2 separate regions of the Homo sapiens genome follow, and region 2 is linked to region 1. The links are contacts of gene promoters, found by promoter capture Hi-C in blood cells and fetal thymus (Javierre and others, 2016). All regions are on one chromosome and are shown on one strand. Each heading gives the region's core, a stretch centred on a gene start or on the middle of the fragment in contact. The rest is flanking DNA. Distances are from core to core; before and after follow the strand shown. Region 1 holds the start of ZNF410 (zinc finger protein 410). Region 2 holds the start of PSEN1 (presenilin 1).

Region 1 (2,972 bases), core at 100-2,599:
TTCAATGATCGCCCAATCTTCCTCCCACTCAGCTGCAAATTCTAGGTCTTTAAATCTCTCTCATTCTCCATTTTTAAATAATTCCCGTGATTCTCTGTTCCCAGAATGTTCTCTGTTCCCTACTGTAATGCCCTGTTTAGGTCTCTCAGTAACTTTCTACTATACTATTAAAACAGGCCTCTAACTGGTCACCCCGCGTTTAAAATTCCTCTTTCCAATACATCCTTTATGCAGCCATTCAAGTTATCTTTCCAAAACAAAGAAATGCTTATGTCACTTCTACTCAAAGTTCAGTGCCTCGGAAAAATTGTCATAGCCCTAAAGGTAAACCCCTTCGTTTACAGAAAAACTCCCCAGAGCTAGAGATTCAGCAACTTGCCAAAAATTAGACATCTACTTAGATGCAAAACGTAAAAAACTAGAACTTAAAACTTCTGACTGCTACTTTAGTTGTCTTTTACTCTGCACCACACTAAGAAAAAACCAAGTGCAATTTCTCACTCCCTAACAAAATGCCCGACTTTATTTCCAAATGTTTTTTATTTATTGCAAATATGCTGCGTTGACCTTCGTTCCAACCTAAGTACTAATTCTTAAGTCCCAAGTTAATAATATTTAACTTCCAAATGGTGCCTAAATGCATTTCTGAGCCTCATGATCAAGTGGGATAAACTTTAATAAATTGGATTATCTTGAGAAACTTCAGAAAATAAATTCGACACGAAATGTATGAAGGCCGTAAACAATCCACACACTCCTGCCCCCCGAACTGACAGGCAAAGGAGAAACGGGCGACCCAGCCCAGCCGAGTAGGCAGCTGTCCCTTTTCCAAACCCAGAAAGTAAGTGGTATGAAAGGAGAGGGTAGCTCTGGACTGAAACATTCAGGGCAAGGCCTCCTGGCATCCTCTACCCCACACCACAAAGGCCTCAGAAATAAGGCCCCAAGGTCCGTAGGCAGGCCCCGGCTGCGGGTGCAGTCCAAGAGCCCCCGCCCCGGGGACTCGCTGACTCTGGCTTTCTCAGGACAGTCTGTTCCTATATCCCTACCCCCAAAACCAAGCAAAGGAGCAAGAACATCGCCCCTAAAAACCCGCGAGGGGAAGGGCCAAAGCCGCAGGGCTTCAGACTGGCCGCTCCCGGGCCCGCCAGATCCAGGAGGGATGCCCAAGGAGGGCGGTTTCCTCTCTCGGGGCGAACTCGGCCCCAGGCCCCAAGTAGCCGGTACTGGCCCCCGCCCTCTCGGGTACTACCTAACCGAGGAGGGGTGGCCAGGCCCACCTCGGAGCTCACCTTCCAGTTCCGGGAAGCCGGCCGGCCGTCAGTCGGTCCCGAATTCCGTCCACACACAGCGTCTTCCGGCTCCCGCCGGAAGCAGCTCGAGCGCGGGACAGGAAGTTTGGCTGACCCCCCACGCACACACCCACTCGCTCGCCTCAGTGTCGTGTGGCTGCCGCACTGCTCGGGACCCAGACGTCAAGGGTGCTGGCGGGGCCTCCCCAGGCCCGCGACGCAGGGCTCCGCCCCGGACAGGAGGAGCCGCAGCCGCCCCGCTCCCACTCACTCACTCACTCTCGGCCTTCGGGACTCCTATGTCCGCGAAGCCCGAAAAAACAGGTCAGCTAATTCGTTGACGTCACTGCCACCCCGCAGTAGCGGAGGGAGTAGTTTTTCCCATCAGCGGAGGCGTTGCAATGGAGGCAAACGCGAAAGAAAAGATCACTGCTTAAACATTTATCAAAGGTCTCCATGGAGAGGACCTTCGAAGTTTCACCGCCCGAGAAAGGAACTTGCAGAATCAAGTTTTGCATTATATACGGGACGGGGTATGCAGTGAGTCTGGGTTCCGTGTTGTAATTAGGATGTAAAGAGCTCTTGGATGTCCCGACTGCGGGCTTGAACACTTGACTTCCAAGCTGGATGCCACCTTGTTAAAGCTTTGTGAGTTTGACTGACTTCTTGAAATTACTTATTTTAAAATATTTGCGTGCGGAAGAATGAGAGACTCAACCGTGGGAATTAAAGGAGTTCTCTTTAAAAAGGCATTTTCAAGGTTAAAGATAAGCCTTGATGACAGGTTTGGGTACACAAATTACTAATGGTGATTTAAAATAAAGGAGAAACATTTCAGAGGAAGATAATTCCACTTTAGAAAAGCAGAGTAGGCCGGACTCCGTGGCTCACGCCTTTAATCCCAGCACTTTGGGAGGCTAAGGTGGGCGGATCACGAGGTCAGGAGATCGAGACCATCCTGGGTAACGCCGTGAAAACCCGTCTCTACTAAAAACACAAAAATTAGCCGGGCGTGGTGGCACGCGCCTGTAATCCTAGCTACTCGGGAGGCTGAGGCAGGAGAATCGCTTGAACCCGGGAGGCGGAGGTTGCAGTGAGCCGAGATCGTGCCGCTGCACGCCGGGCGACTGAGCAAGACTCCATCTCAAAAAAGAAAAGAAAAGAAAAAAGCAGAGTATAAGATGCAATCCAGAGTTGAGGATATTTACTTGGAGGTAAAGGTCCAGTGCTCAAGAAAGAGGTCAGAAATACAGATGGAGATTTGGGAGTTAGCAACATACAGAGAAAAGTGAAACCCCCTCAGGCGATGAAATGGTCCAGGAAAAGTAACAAAAAAGGGCCACTCACGAAAACTGGGGAGGCTGATTACCAACACAGTTTGAATCTACTTATTACAAATGTTGCATACAAAAGTATATTGGCAGTGTGTAGACAATCATAAGCCAAAACATTCAGAAACAATAATCTTCAGTTTTACTGTTCTGCGAGGGTTGAGTACAATTAATAAAACAAACTTTTGAGGTACATCAGTAGTTCCTGAACATTCATGTTTACAAACATTTGTTAATTTGCCCAGTCCTGTCATTTTCTGAAACTGTCTTTGTTGTCAATCTGTTTTTGTTTTTTGAGATGGAATTTCACTCTTGTCGCCCAGGCTGGAGTGCAATGGTGCAAGCTCAG
Region 2 (2,938 bases), core at 87-2,586, 750 kb after region 1:
CAAAGTGCTGGGATTACAGGCGTGAGCCACCGCCCCGGGCCTCACATTTTATTTCTATTGGCTAGCGCTGCTCTAAATCTTCTGTTCCTTCTGCTACACCAGGCCTAACACTCAAAATCCCTGCCAACCTTTTCCTTCCTGAAGCTTCCCTCCCCTTCCTCAGCTCTGGCGACCCTGCGCTGTGGTGGTTCTCCAACCACACTCATTCTCCTCAGCTGGCTCCTTGCTCTTCTTCCACCCCCTCGTTGCAAGTGTTCCTAAGTGTTTGCCTTGGCCTCCTCTTCCCCTTCCTTAGCTTAGACTTCTCCACTGCTCCAACATCAACTGGAAATCTATGGAATTGATTCCTGTTTTCAGCTCCAGTCCTGTTCACAGGGCATTTTCACCTGCTGGCACTTCCAAAGTGACACTTCCAAACCACTTCCTCGCCCTCCTCTCTAAACCAGGTCTTTCTTCCTAACTTCCTTATTTCTGAGAATGTCTCTGCCATGTTCTAAACTGAAAACCTCCTAGTCAACTTCACACTTTATTCCCTGATCCTCAATTGGTTCCCATGTCCCGTTAGTGTTTCTTGTAAGCCTCTGCCACCACCGCAGATCGAACTCTAATCACATCTCACCTGAATTATGGAAAAGTCACCTCAATTCTCTCACCCATCCCAGCCTCCACTATGGATTAATATGCCTAAAGCAGAGCTGACCACAACGGTGAGAAGAATCTGAGAGGGAAGCAGCAGCAAACACAAGAGTCACTGGACATGCATGCCTCGAGACAGTCCCGACCAAGGAGAAAGCATCAGACCCCGTCTTCCGCCTCGAACAAGAGGCGTGCGGACTTCGCCCAGAATGCTCGTCGCCCCTGGACAAGGACACACCCGGGGCGTGAGGCGCGGAGTTTCACCAGTTGCTCAAGCAGACCCAGCCCAAGACGCTTCCTCTTTCTCCTACTCCACTCCAGTTCAGACGGCTACTAATCCCGGCCCAAGGCACCTGCGCCCTGAGACGTCTTCGAGCAAACAGCATTTCCGGACCAAGGCTCCCCGGAATCTCTCTCCACCCGGCCGCGCCCGAAGCCCGAGAAACGGGCCGCCCCTCCTGGTTTCCCACACGGGGTTCCCCAGCCCCAACCGGCCGCGCCCCGCCCCTCATCTTTTAGGACACCGGCTTCGCGGCCCGGGCGGCCACAAAGGGCCGGGCCCTGCCCGCGGCCGCCCATGTCCGCGGTGCCTTCCTGGCTTGCCCGGACTCCCCATCACGCACATACGCTTCCCCGCCGCCCCGCTGCCGCCGCGGCTCGTAGCTCAGGTTCCTTCCAGACCAGCCGCTGTTTTGTTTCCGATGTGAAACCGCGGACCCCGGAGCTGCCTGTCCCAGGCCCCGCCCGAGAACCCTCACCGTTGTCGTCATTTCCGGCTCTGGCGTCGTTGGCGGCCGGCCCACGGAGGAGGGGAGGAGCCAGGAGGAAGGGGGCGGGGCCTCCGGCCTGGAGAAACGATTGCGGGGAGAACCCAGAGCTCCACCTGGCCTTCCCCACCTGACGGAATCCGCCCAGAGCGCTGGCGTGGGTTGTCGGGGTTCTGAGGCTGCTCGAGCTGAGGACGAAAGCCCCTATATAAATTGGGCCCAGCGTGTGCTTCTCCCGGCATACAAGCGATGGCCATCCTAAATTTAACACCTGTCATTTCTTTAGGGTACCTATTTGCGAACCAGCTGCATCACAATCAAGAGAATGCTGTTAAAATCGCAAATATCTCTGCCCTCTCCCACCACTCAATGAATCAAAACTTCTGGTGGGTGGCGAGAACCTGAGAAACTGCATTTTAAACATCCTCCGCGATTCTTGGACTCCAACTTTGACAACCAGTCTTTCTAGGTGGCAAGCTAGCTGAGAGCAGAAAATGTGTCTGGTTTGCTGGGTCACTTGATTTTTGCATCTGCCTGCTCTTTGTCCAGTTTTGGTAAAGACAGTACCAATGTCTAATTCATTAGACAGCATACCACACTTACACATATATCCAAAAGCTAAAACTAAAAAATGAATACTACCTTATTTAATCAAGGTGAACGGAGAAATGTCAAACATGGGTATTCAAAAAACCGAAAATGAAATTAACGGTACATGGTATCTGGGCAAGTTACATTCTTCTAAAGTTTCTTTAAAAATCCACCCCCAAGCGGCCGGGTGCAGTCGCTCACGCCTGTAATTCCGGCACTTTGGGAGGCCGAAGCAGGCGGATCATGAGGTTGGGAGTTCTAGACCAGCCTAACCAACATGGTGAAACCCCGTCTCTACTAAAAATACAAAAAAATTAGCCGGGTGTGGTGGCGCGCTCCTGTAATCCCAGCTACTCGGGAGGCTGCAGCAGGAGAATCGCTTGAACCCGTGAGCTGAGATCACACCACTGCACTCCAGCCTGGGAGACAGAGCAAGACTCCATCTCAAAAAATAAAAATTAAAATTAAAAAATAAAATCCACCCCAAGCTATCCCTTCACATTCCTATCGCATCAATCTCCAATCCCTCCTCCCAACCCACTGCCAACCTTGTTCAAAAACATGAGATTCTAATACTTTTTACACACAAAAGCTTCATATTTAAGAACAAAAGTAATATTTTCCATTAGCAGAATGAAAGATAAGTTGTGGGAGAAGGTTGAACGAAAAAAGATGTTTTTAAAATTCTTCACCTCCCCCACTTTAACAAGAGTAGGGATTTTAGTTTGTTCATTTACAAGTGCTCATGCTTGTCAGCAGCACATATACATTTTACAAGTGCTGAGAACAGTGCCTGATACATAACAGTGCCTGATACATACAATAGTTCAGTATTGAACAAATACAGGCTAAAACCCATCTATTTGTGAACTACTTCAATCTGATTGCAGTCCGCTAATATTAATAGGATGTCTTAAAATGCTGATGAACTATTCTTAGAAACA

What was found. Contacts are between HindIII fragments. The CHiCAGO score rates a contact against its expected background, and 5 or more counts as called.
Region 2: the fragment with the promoter of PSEN1 here is called in contact with the fragment with the promoter of ZNF410 in region 1 in 8 of 17 cell types (monocytes, total B cells, fetal thymus and 5 more); the score reaches 10.1 in monocytes.

Annotation. Positions count from the first base shown.
Region 1 is chr14:73,885,236-73,888,207 of GRCh38, reverse strand. ZNF410 (zinc finger protein 410) reads right to left here and starts at 1,349. Exons shown (of 12, transcript NM_021188.3): 1 at 1,293-1,349. PTGR2 (prostaglandin reductase 2) reads right to left here. Exons shown (of 10, transcript NM_001146154.2): 10 at 2,482-2,972. RefSeq lists an enhancer at 1,290-1,359 and a silencer at 1,410-1,689. The HindIII fragment of the contact is 2,164 bases long and covers 1-1,938 here.
Region 2 is chr14:73,134,905-73,137,842 of GRCh38, reverse strand. PSEN1 (presenilin 1) reads right to left here and starts at 1,336. Exons shown (of 12, transcript NM_000021.4): 1 at 1,260-1,336. RefSeq lists an enhancer at 877-986 and silencers at 1,157-1,216, 1,477-1,556. The HindIII fragment of the contact is 2,442 bases long and covers 147-2,588 here.